4 separate regions of the Homo sapiens genome follow, and all the other regions are linked to region 4. The links are contacts of gene promoters, found by promoter capture Hi-C in blood cells and fetal thymus (Javierre and others, 2016). All regions are on one chromosome and are shown on one strand. The core of a region is centred on a gene start or on the middle of the fragment in contact, and the rest is flanking DNA. Distances in the headings are between cores, read along the strand shown. Region 1 has its middle 15 kb from the start of TWIST1. Region 2 has its middle 3.4 kb from the start of TWIST1. Region 3 has its middle 5.3 kb from the start of POLR1F. Region 4 holds the start of SP8 (Sp8 transcription factor).

Region 1 (2,700 bases), core at 122-2,621, 1.7 Mb before region 4:
TTGAAGAATGCCAGACCCAAATGACATCTTGAAGGCCTTTGAGATTCTCAGATGAAAGGCTTTATGTAAAAATAAAGTGTTGCTACTACCTAGGCAGAGAAAAATGCACACATTTTCTTTCAGCATTCAAGAGACCAATACAGTGGTGCCCTCTGCTCTCCTTTGATTTTTCGTTTGCATTTAGTTTGACGACAATATAGATAAATCCTCCATTTGGTGCCATTGGACCAGGGTTACATTTCAGTATGTGGAAAAATGATGAAATGAAAGAGAAAAGCCTTTGAAAGAAAGTGAAAATAAATGTAATAGCCAAAGCCAAATAATAGTCAGAGTATATTTAAAGTCTATTAAAGAGCAGCAGTCAGGGTATCAAATGCACACTCTTTCATCCTCTGTGGTCAGCCTACTATGTGGACCACCTGCCTTAAATTACACAAGTTCACCGCATCCCTGGAGTGAAGGGGAAGGCAGGAGAAGAATGGGGGTGGAGAAGCAACTTTCTCCATTCATACTAATCACACAAATGGTAAAATCTTTTTAGAATGCCTCTTTTCAATTCACAATCAATTACATTTGAGTCTCTAAACCACCACTCTTGGGTTTGGAATAATGTGTGGATATGTGCAGTAAAAAAGTAACTTGAAGTTTCAGTTTCTCAGCAGATACTGATTGGCATGTACTGTTTAATCATCAGTGATTATGCTGTTTTAGAAGGTGAAAGAACAATGTGGAGCTGTTTATTGCACAGGAATATATGAAAATAGAGCCCTAATTGGCCGAATCAGGAGAAAAGACAGACCCTTCTGGACAGGCTGCTCCAGTTTGGACAAGAATCACATGTGGACAGTATATGTGGAGCTCTCACACGAAACAAATGGAGTTGATTTCACAGACATTACAACACACTAATATGCTAGCCAAATTTCTTATTAGACTTAATACTTATTACTTTCAGAATACTATGGCTGCCACATATGGTTGTGAGGGATGGTCACTGAACAAGGGCACTTGGTCCACAGTGCAAAGGGGCCTGAAATAAGTCCCACTCTGCACAATAAGATATAAGCCCTGAAAAAAAGGGCTCCCTTTACTATTTAGACAGGGAGCTCATATAAGCAAATAGCAACTATGGGCTCCACAGCTATTTTAAATTTAAAACATTTAAAATAAGTGTCTGAATCATAATGTTTCAATAAATGTTTTTGAACATCTTTTTGCTTACCTGGGCTTTTATTCTAAAAATGAAAGATAAGAGTATTAATCCTCCTACCCCGCCCCCCTGCCCATGATAGAATGGGACTGTCAGTATTGTCATTTTTCAGTCATTTCTGCCCAGGTTTTCCTATTGGTATAATGTTGATAATTAGTATATTTAGTTCAAATTAACAAAAATGTCATGTGCCAGGCACAAAGCAAAGTGTTAGAATTACACATCACTAAGCTGGACAGGCATCTGTATACCAAAAACATATAGTCTAATAAGTGACTACTAATCACTTAATTTTTCCTACAGATTGATGAAAAGATAAAATAGCAAATGCAAAAGAGAAAGTTCTTGGGCTCACTTCCATTAGTTCTGTTCTAAAGTTTATACTCTCAGAATGCTTAATGCAGAGGAACTTATTTTCCCTCTCCACTCCTATTCTCCCACAGGTAAGGGGTCTCTAATTTTCTGCACCACCTCAAAATATCAAAGAAAACTGGGGTGTGGTAGCCACCGCAAGGACCTCCAGTGCACATGTAGCTAAACATACACAAGTGAGACCATGCTTCTGCGATTAGAGGCTTCTTCCTTCACTGTCATGAGCATAACATGGTCACTTATGCATAGTCCTTAGATCGTAATCAGAACTCCAAGAAATGTTTGCTGACTGAATAATCTTTCATTTGTTCAACTGAAGGCAGTGTCATAGTGGCCAGCCATGCAGCCTGTCACTTGAAGAAAAGTGCTTGAGGAAGAATGAACATTTCGACATTACTTCTTGCTGATCTACAATTTTAACTCTATTTGTACAGCCAGATAACTGAGTACATGATTTACAGGAATAAATGAGAGTCACCTGTGGCTGTACGTTTGTGTAAGTCCACATACTTTTTACGTAGGTTGTTATATTTATGAATTGTGCTACCTACACTCTGGTTACAGGTTGTTCTTTACATCAATAACTCATGAAAACCCACTAGGAGAGCATGTCAGATATAAGAATGGCACCACAGATCACAGATTGAAAAGACCTCTGGGATCATCTGCACAGAGTAGGAAAAACCACTCATGATCACTCTCCTTTGGTTCTGCCTCATCTGTAATCACTCCATGGGGCAAACTGCACTCCTGGTTTTTCTGACCAACAAACAGTTCTGCACAGGCTAGTTAAATTATCTTTCCGGCCGGGCACGGTGGCTCACGCCTGTAATCCCAGCACTTTGGGAGGCCGAGGTGGGCAGATCACGAGGTCAGGAGATCAAGACCATCCTGGCTAACACGGTGAAACCCCATCTCTACTAAAAATACAAAAAATTAGCCAGGTGTGGTGGCGGGCGCCTGTAGTCCCAGCTATTAGGGACGCTGAGGCAGGAGAATGGCGTGAACCCGGGAGGCAGAGCTTGCAGTGAGCCGAGATCGCGCCACTGCACTCCAGCCTGGACGACAGAGCGAGACTCCGTCTCAAAAAAAAAAAAAAAAAAAAAAAAAAAAAAAAA
Region 2 (2,700 bases), core at 31-2,530, 1.7 Mb before region 4:
AGAACGTGGCTGCAGAAATCTCGAAACCTTTTCCACTTCAGCTATTTTTTTAAAGATAAATCTTATTTTTGTTTTGTTCTTTTTTTCTCTTTTCTCAAAAATAAATAAAGAGATCGAATGATTGGACTCTTTCCTTTGTGGCCACGGATAAGTAAGACAGGAAAGTGTGGGTAAAGTGTAAAGGAAATCTTACCTGACCAAGGGGAATTTGGGAAGGGGAGGGGAGCGGACAAGCTAGAGGAGAAACCAAGTCCACAGCAGCGCAGCAGCCAGGGGTCATTAGCCAGTCCATCTTGCAAAGTCATCAGTCTCAAAGACTGGTTCTTAAACAAGTGAGCCCAGCCCTTTTCCCGGCACTAAACTTCTAGCTGATGAAGAGCTCCTGGCCATTGGGTACAGGGATCCCCGCAAGGCTCAGGCGACGCTCTGATGCCAGAATACTGAGAGGGGAATTCAAAATGAACACCTAACCAGAACCATCCTGCCCATGGACTCTTTCAGCCACAGTCACAATTGATGACTAGTTCTAAGAAGAAATGGCTCTTGAACTGTTCCGGGGAGTGGAGGATGAGACGACTTTTGAGTTCTTAAGTGGGGCTTGAATGTTACTTTTGGAGCAAAAGTAGTCCAGGAGGTACCTCTCAAAAAATGGCTGGAGCTAGATACTCCCTGCTTTGCAAACTGCAACACGCCCTGGCTGACGAGTCCAGTCTGCTCATATACAGCTCTTTCTTATCTAACATTTTACCTAACAATTTTCTTTTCCACATTTGCAAGGATGGCTCCCTTTTTACTTGTTGACAGGTCAGGTATAATTCTGGATTCTCTTATATATGCAACAATAATTGCAACTTCTGCAATGTTTAGTTTAAATTTGAAAGCTTCTTTCTAAAATCCCAATCTTGAGATCATGAAAACAATCTTAGAAATTTTCTTTTGAGGCTGAAGTTAGCCTAACTGGAAGTATGTCAGTGGGGACTACCTTCTTTGGGAATGCTAGATTAACTGGAATTCAGTCATTTTGCCTCCTTCTAAAGTAAAGTCCTCCCCAAAAAAATTTAACTGAAAAAAAAAATTTCTTTTGTACTTGGATAGTTCAAAACGATCTTTGTTTTCAAACTGCAAACTTGGCATGTTTGCAATCCTGCCTGAGGAATGTGTGCTGTGTTAAAAATTGAAACAAAAAATACTGTTAAAAGTAACAGAGTTAGAAATCTCACATTGAACATATACAATAAGTATTAAGTATCCTGGCAGTTTGAATATGCTGTGACATTCTCTTAGCAACAACCAATTATAAATACTTTTAGATACGGAAAAGAAACACACACTATAGAATGGTTAGCCAACTGGTAAATTCTGGAGTTTGGGCTTGCATAAAAGGTGAGTACCTCAATCTGTTCCTACTCTTCTTTCTCCTCAGACCTTAGATGGCCTATCACCTGTTTGTTGGCTCCGAGTTCTGAGAAATAATTTATCTGAATTGCATAAATAGTGCACAGGAGCATTCGCACGGAAGGGAGTGAAAATTAGAAAGGCTGCAATTGAGTGAATATCAGATGAGGTTGTATATCTTAGATTTCATCTTGCTTTGAACACTCCAGAGGGACTGCTGTTTAAATGAGAGAATTTTAGTAAGGTGGAATATAAAGTCATGTATGTCAACACAATAACTGTGTAAAAGCTTATTCTTCTTTCATGACCCTGGTAGCCTTAATGATGTTTGAACACCTTTCCCTATATAAAAACTCATTCTCTTTCTCTTTAAATGATGATTTGATTCATAAACTCAACTGATTCTACATTTTTCTATCTGAATATCTTTAAAAGTAAAAAAAACAAACTAAAGTTATAAAATGTGAAGTTTTCAATCCAGAAATAAAACGAAAAAGTAAAAAACACAATAAATTAGGGTGCGAACAGTACCGCAAGTGAAATTTTCAAATAAATGTTAATCTTTAAAATAGCTGACATTCTGAACTCAGCTTAAGGATGGGATGAGGAGACATAGGTCTAACCTGTAGAAAGTGCAGGATCAGAATATGGAAAAGTATGGAGTCTTGAAGAGCATTTTTTTTTTTCATTTTTTTTTTCAGGGGTTGTGCAGGCTGGAGAGTTGGTGTCTTAGCTGCCCATTAACCTTGTTGGAAAACACACTCACTTCACTTGTATCAAAGAGTTGCTGGAATAACTGATGAAAGAATGCAAGAAATAAATAGTTATTCATAGGAACTATTATCATGGTCTCAGTCTTTCTACATAGCATTATGTGTCTTCTTTTTAATCATCCGATGACCAGTAATTTAAATATAAATGGAATGATTTACATTCTATGTTTTTTCAATTCAATTTCTCTTTCTGATTACTCATAACTTTCACCTTTCTTCACTGGAAGGGATTTCCGTTTTTCACAAATGGGTTTTCCTGAAGCCTTATGTCCTGCTGCTATTGTTTGGTTTGGTTCTTTCTGCAGAAAACATGTTGTTTTTGCCAGTCACCACAAGAGGACACAATTTCCCAGATAACTTTGTTTAGAAAGAAGCTCAGAGAAGAGGAAAGCTAACAAAACAGCAAAAATAACACACAATTAATGAATATCATTTGGAGATGTCTATTTGATTTATGCCATTTTTATTAATTAAAAAAACATGAGTTAGCATTCAAACTTTTGAAGATTTTATAATTTGTACTTTCTTAGAA
Region 3 (2,700 bases), core at 180-2,679, 1.1 Mb before region 4:
ACCTTCTGTCTAGACTCTAGAACTTCCACAATGTCAATCCAATGTATGGGGTACATCTGATCTCATGTACTTTGTTCTTTGCCTCAGAGAGGCTCAGAAGCTTCTTCTGTCATATATCAGGGGTATATACGTCCCTAGGAATGCCCACCCTGGATAAAGAGCAATACTAGTACTGACAGGAAGGATTTAATCACACTTATATGACTGTTTATATCAAATTGGTGGAATGAGTGATGAGTGTCAACATCACAATGACCAACATTATCACAGGTAAACTTTACTACAAACCTGCCAGATGCTATGCCAAGTGCCCTAGGTAAATCACTGACAGATAATCTTTATGAATTGATTACACTAATGACATATATTTACAAGCGAGAAGCCTGTATTCTAAAAGAAATGTCAGCCTCATGATGGTAGCTATCCTCTCTGTATTGCTAACAGTCATATGCCCAGGGCCTAATGCATACTCCTTGAGTGAATGAACCAATGACTTTCCCAAGAATACCCAGCGATTTATCAATAAAGGAATCTAACCCAGGCATGAGTTATCCCATAATTTATGCTTTGAATCACTAAAGATCCTCACTTTTTCTATGTCTATATCAAAAACTGATGAAGAAGGAAATTGTAAAAATTGATGGTTTATTTTATTTAGTCTCTGCCTAGAAAAGTGCTAAGGTAAGATATTTGACCAAATTGGTAAATATTAACATTTTAGTAGGATTGGAAAGGTGTCAAACAAGCACCAGTTTTAGCCGAAATATATATAATACAGGGTATATCAACCAAATGTTTGTTGATGCAGACCACTTGTGTTTCACAAATTTGCCAGCAGATGGCAAAAATGAGCTTAAATTTGTAAAGTTTTGCTTTAGCTTAAGGACTGTAGAAATGACAAAAGTGAAGGGAAACTTTATTGATGGCTTGTTTTTATCTACAATCCTTCTTCAACAGAGAACTTAGGATAAATTTTTGACTCTGAAGGCTCCTTCTACTTGCTTGTTAGATTGTTGACACTACATGATACACATGTGCCTAAAGAGAATGAGGAAATATATTAACAGAGCACATTATATTACATACACACACACACACACACACACACACACACACACACACACACACACACATATCGTTTAAACCTGAGCTTTGAAATATGGACCTAAATAAAGTCATGCCAATTTTTTAGCTCCTGATGTTACAATTATCTATCTAGGTAAAAGCCAAGAAGGCAACTGCCTAGCACTTTGGATGAAAGATGTCAGCTAGAAAGGATTAGCTTAAATAATAAAATAAATTTGAGGTGTGTGAGTGTGTACGAGTCTGCGTACATGTAGATGTGAGCACTGATGACTGCTTCTAGAGGTTGGGAAGAGGTAAACAAGGTATCTCAAGGGGGTGAGTCTACTTTAGGAGGACAAGATGCCATCTGTATTTATTGTCCTCTTACAAAAACTAGTGTTAGTATTTCTTCTAAGCCCTATTTCCTCTCTAATCAGACCTTTCTGCAATCAAATTTCAACATCCTCCTTTCAAGTTTTTCAAATCCAGTGAATTAAGCTAATACAATTGGCTGTGATGCTTGCAAGGGTGACTGTGGAAATTCTCATTTACTTCCACCTGTCTTTTGCTCAGTGCAGAATAGAAATAGAAAACAGTTTTCTTTTTTATATTTTGAAGATTACTTTAATGCTGTAGTTTAATAAAGCACTTGCTGACTGCAGAAACTGTGTAGATGTGAACTCCAAGATTCTTGACATTAAATAGTTCCGAAGAATGTGGTACGGAAAGTTTGAGGGTGGTAATTAAAAAAATGAAATTTAGATGCAGTGCCTTTTGATACACAATTTACTCTGAAGTGCCCAAACACAATTTATATTAATGTATCATATTCTAGACTTCCCGTTACAGCTACAGGGTGCTTAATACACCTATGCTTTGGAAATTATTATAGTTATGAATTTATCGTTGTCCAATGGCAAAGTGAACTTGCCCAGTTGTGAAAAATGCCCTGCAGGAATTTACAAATTAAGTCATTACTTTAAGGCCACAGTTGTTAGTAAAATATCTGAAAGTCCAAAATTTGCACTGAGTAGGATAGACTAATGAATAAAATGAAAGACTAATGAATAAAAGAAAGCTACTCGATTTCTTTGTGTCTCACTTTGCCTTGATATTCTTTGTTGTGATTCCTGTTTTCTTGTACCATATTGGCTTTAGGGTGATACTGACAGTATTAACTCCGCTTGAAAAAAACCTTTTCTCCTGAAATCTTTGGCACAGTCGAATAGACTAAACTGGATGTTTAAAAGTAGGACAAAAAAAACACCAGAGCCTACCAGAAATGAACATATCTTTAATATAAGGGCATAATTTTTTTCATGACCAAATTAGTTTTCTCTATAGCCTACAGGTCCAAGCACCTTATCAATAAAGCCTAGGGGAAAAGTGATCTTGTTTCCGTTTCTGTTACAGCTTTCTGCCTGTCTCCAATGACCTCCTAGATTTTCCATCCTCTTTATATTCAAGGTTTATGGAGCTCAAGTTTTCTTTCAGTTGGCTGAAATCCTTTCTTTGAATTCCTATTTTCAATATGTGTACATACTTGCTGGCCAGGTGACTAAAACAGTCGCTTCTCTCACTAGCTGCTGCTGCCTCAGTGACTAAAGCTGGATTTCAATTGGCTGATTCAGGAGT
Region 4 (2,700 bases), core at 180-2,679:
GGAGGTGAGGGAGAAGGCGCTGGAGCCAGGCGAGCCGCCGCAGCTGAACGAGTCGGACACCAGGGCCGCGGCAGCCGCGGCTGCTGCCGCGGCCGCCGCAGCCGCCGAGGACGAGCCGCCGTTCCTGGAGGCCCCGGACACGCCGAAGCTTGAGAGACTGGAACCCACTACGTTGCAGCTGGCGGAAGAAGAGGACGAGGAGCGTTTCCAGGGGTGGAAGCCTTTGCCGAAGGAAGAAGAGCTGTCCGAGAGGGAGGAGGGAGACGGGCTGGGGCTGCCTATCTTATTACAGGTAGCGGCAAGCATGGCCAGAGGAGTCGATCCCAACCTCGGTTCTTCCTGCGAGGAGGAGAGGAGAAGGAGTGGGGGAGGGGAGGTGGGCAAAGGGCCGGTGGGGGAGGAAAGGAAGAAATGTGCATCAGTCCTTCGGTAGCCTCCAAAGCGCCCCACTGCACCCCATCTCTCGCTGCGGCGCGCCGCCACCAACTCACCTGGCACCCCCAACAGCCCCGGCGCCCGGCCGCTTCCTACTCTACAGGAGGGGACAAGTTTGGCTGCCGGCGTCTGATTCGGGAGCAAGCACCACGCTAAAGAAGAGTTTGACAAGTATTCTCACCTAAAACAACACTCTCTTGCACACAAAGCCCCAGACACTTCGTAACAAACAAGCAAAAAGTCCAGATTGGAGAGGAAGGAAGTTTTCTTTGCCGAGAAGCCTGGGGGAAAACCATTGGATTGCTTTTAAGAGCGCTTCCCTGTAATCCGGAGAGCTTTGAAAAACCTGTTCGGGTCCCCAGAAACCCATCCTGGGTTGTTTCTCCCAGGCCAAAAGAAATCAAACTGTAGGGCTCACTCTTTCTTCCTGCTTTTCTTTCTTTCTTTTTTTAAAAGCATATCTACAGTAGTAAAAACGAGACGAGTTCAACGTACCTGCGAGACAAGGCGGGCTGCAGAATTTTTTTTTAAGGGTTAGGGGAAGAATCTGCACTTTGCCCAGAAGGAAAAACTTGCTCTCTTTACCCCCGAAATCGGTGCCTGTAAAATGGGCTGGACGCAGGTCTCCCGGGCAGGGAGCAGCGAGGCGCTGCGCGGTGGCTTGTCTAAATGCCCTTCGAACCTTTTCCTGCGCTGAAAAAAAGTGACTCTGCCCCCTTCTCCCCCTTTTTCTTTTCTCCAAACTCACTTGTATTTAAAGAAAAAAAAAAAAAGCTCTCAATAGAGAGACTGATAGCCCGTGGCCTGGCCGGGGCGACTTTAACCCCCTCCAATCGGCAATAAAAGGAAACTAATTAAACCAGCAAGAGAAAATCCTGAGACTCACCCCTAGAAGTGAAGTTGCCATCACACAAAAGTGCCCTCCTCCTCTCAGAGGATCTTTTTTATATTGATAAATCAGAGGCAGTGTTTTTTTTAGAGGTGTGCAATACAATGATCAGTTCCGCCCATTCCACCACAATTGTAGCTCCCTCTCCGGCTTTGAAGTGCCGCGGAGGCGCGGCCAGCCAATCTGCGGCCTCGCCGGGCCGCGCGGCGCGCGCGCCGTGAGGTCATCGGCGCCGCCGCCTGCCGCCGTGGTGGAAGGGGGAGTGGGAGCGGAGGGGGCGGGGGCGGCTGCGTGTGTTACAAAGCGCAAAGCGCGCGCTCGCGTGTATGAGTGTGTGTGTAACAATGTAACTGTGTGCGAGTGTGACCAGGCGTAGGAGAGGACAGTGCGGAGACTGGAGGGAGGGGGGATGGGGGTGTGACACCGTAACAGTGACAGTGTGGTAAAGGCGGGGAGTGGAGAGAGTGCAGAAAAGGGAGGGTTGTGTGATAAGATAACTGCGTGTGCGACAAAGCGGGGTAGAGGGACAGAGCAGTTAAGTGTTGGGAAGGGTGTGAGTGTACGGTAGTGTAACTGACAAACCTAGGGAGGGAAGAGGGACTCAACTGGGTGGGGGGTGAGTGTGTTTGGTGTTGGGGGAGAAGGAGGGCTGTGAACATGTGTATTTGTGCGACAGAGAAGAGGGAAGGGTGTGTGTGGGCGCTTGTGTTGTGTGCGCGCACCAAAGCTGGTAGTGGGGAATGGGAACAATGCAATAAAGTGTGTGTTTGTAAGAGAGAGACTGTCGAGCTGAAGAGAGAAACCGACTAAGTTGATGGAGGCTGAGTGAATAAATATTCACAAACGCTGCCCCTGTCGCCAACTTCCTTTGGCTCCTTGTACCTAAAATCTTGAGTGATTTTTTTTTCTTAACTTGGTAAACAGCGTCACTACATTTTTGAAGAAGATCTTTAAACCCACCTTTTCTTTCCCGGCTCTCCAACGAAATAGTAGAAAGGTTGAGAGGCTAAGGGTTATTTTTAGGGATGCGTTGGGACGTGGATGCGCGCCTGCGCGCCCATGAGTTGTTTCTTTGATGCCGTGGCTTTTTTTTTTTTTTTTTTTTTTTTTTTCCCTGAGGTGGAATTCTGCTTTAGAAGTGCACGTCTCACTCTAGGGGAGGAGGTGTGTGTGTCCCGTGGTGTTGAGTAAATTTCAATACAAAAGGATTAGATAGAGAAGAGAGTAAGCGAGGGTCGTTTTTTCTTTGGGTAAGAAATTGAAGAGCGTTTTACGGAATTTAGAAATTTTCACAGAAAACCTCACTGCCTCTTTCTGAGAAAAGAATCAGGACTTTGATCGAAATATATGGGTTCTATTTATCTAAGAATAGAGAG

Evidence for each region. Contacts are between HindIII fragments. The CHiCAGO score rates a contact against its expected background, and 5 or more counts as called.
Region 1: a contact is called between a fragment that was not itself captured here and the fragment with the promoter of SP8 in region 4, in 1 of 17 cell types (naive B cells). The highest score is 5.7, in naive B cells.
Region 2: a contact is called between a fragment that was not itself captured here and the fragment with the promoter of SP8 in region 4, in 1 of 17 cell types (naive B cells). The highest score is 6.9, in naive B cells.
Region 3: a contact is called between a fragment that was not itself captured here and the fragment with the promoter of SP8 in region 4, in 1 of 17 cell types (monocytes). The highest score is 7.2, in monocytes.

The regions. Positions count from the first base shown.
Region 1 is chr7:19,101,249-19,103,948 of GRCh38, forward strand. No RefSeq gene overlaps it. Among named protein-coding and RNA genes, the nearest start is that of TWIST1, 15 kb to the right of the region's middle. The HindIII fragment of the contact is 6,208 bases long and covers 1-2,700 here.
Region 2 is chr7:19,119,685-19,122,384 of GRCh38, forward strand. No RefSeq gene overlaps it. Among named protein-coding and RNA genes, the nearest start is that of TWIST1, 3.4 kb to the left of the region's middle. The HindIII fragment of the contact is 803 bases long and covers 880-1,682 here.
Region 3 is chr7:19,713,030-19,715,729 of GRCh38, forward strand. No RefSeq gene overlaps it. Among named protein-coding and RNA genes, the nearest start is that of POLR1F, 5.3 kb to the left of the region's middle. The HindIII fragment of the contact is 2,662 bases long and covers 99-2,700 here.
Region 4 is chr7:20,785,457-20,788,156 of GRCh38, forward strand. It overlaps SP8 (Sp8 transcription factor), which reads right to left and starts at 1,430. Exons shown (of 2, transcript NM_182700.6): 1 at 1,322-1,430; 2 at 1-339. The coding sequence starts at 1,342. The HindIII fragment of the contact is 6,810 bases long and covers 147-2,700 here.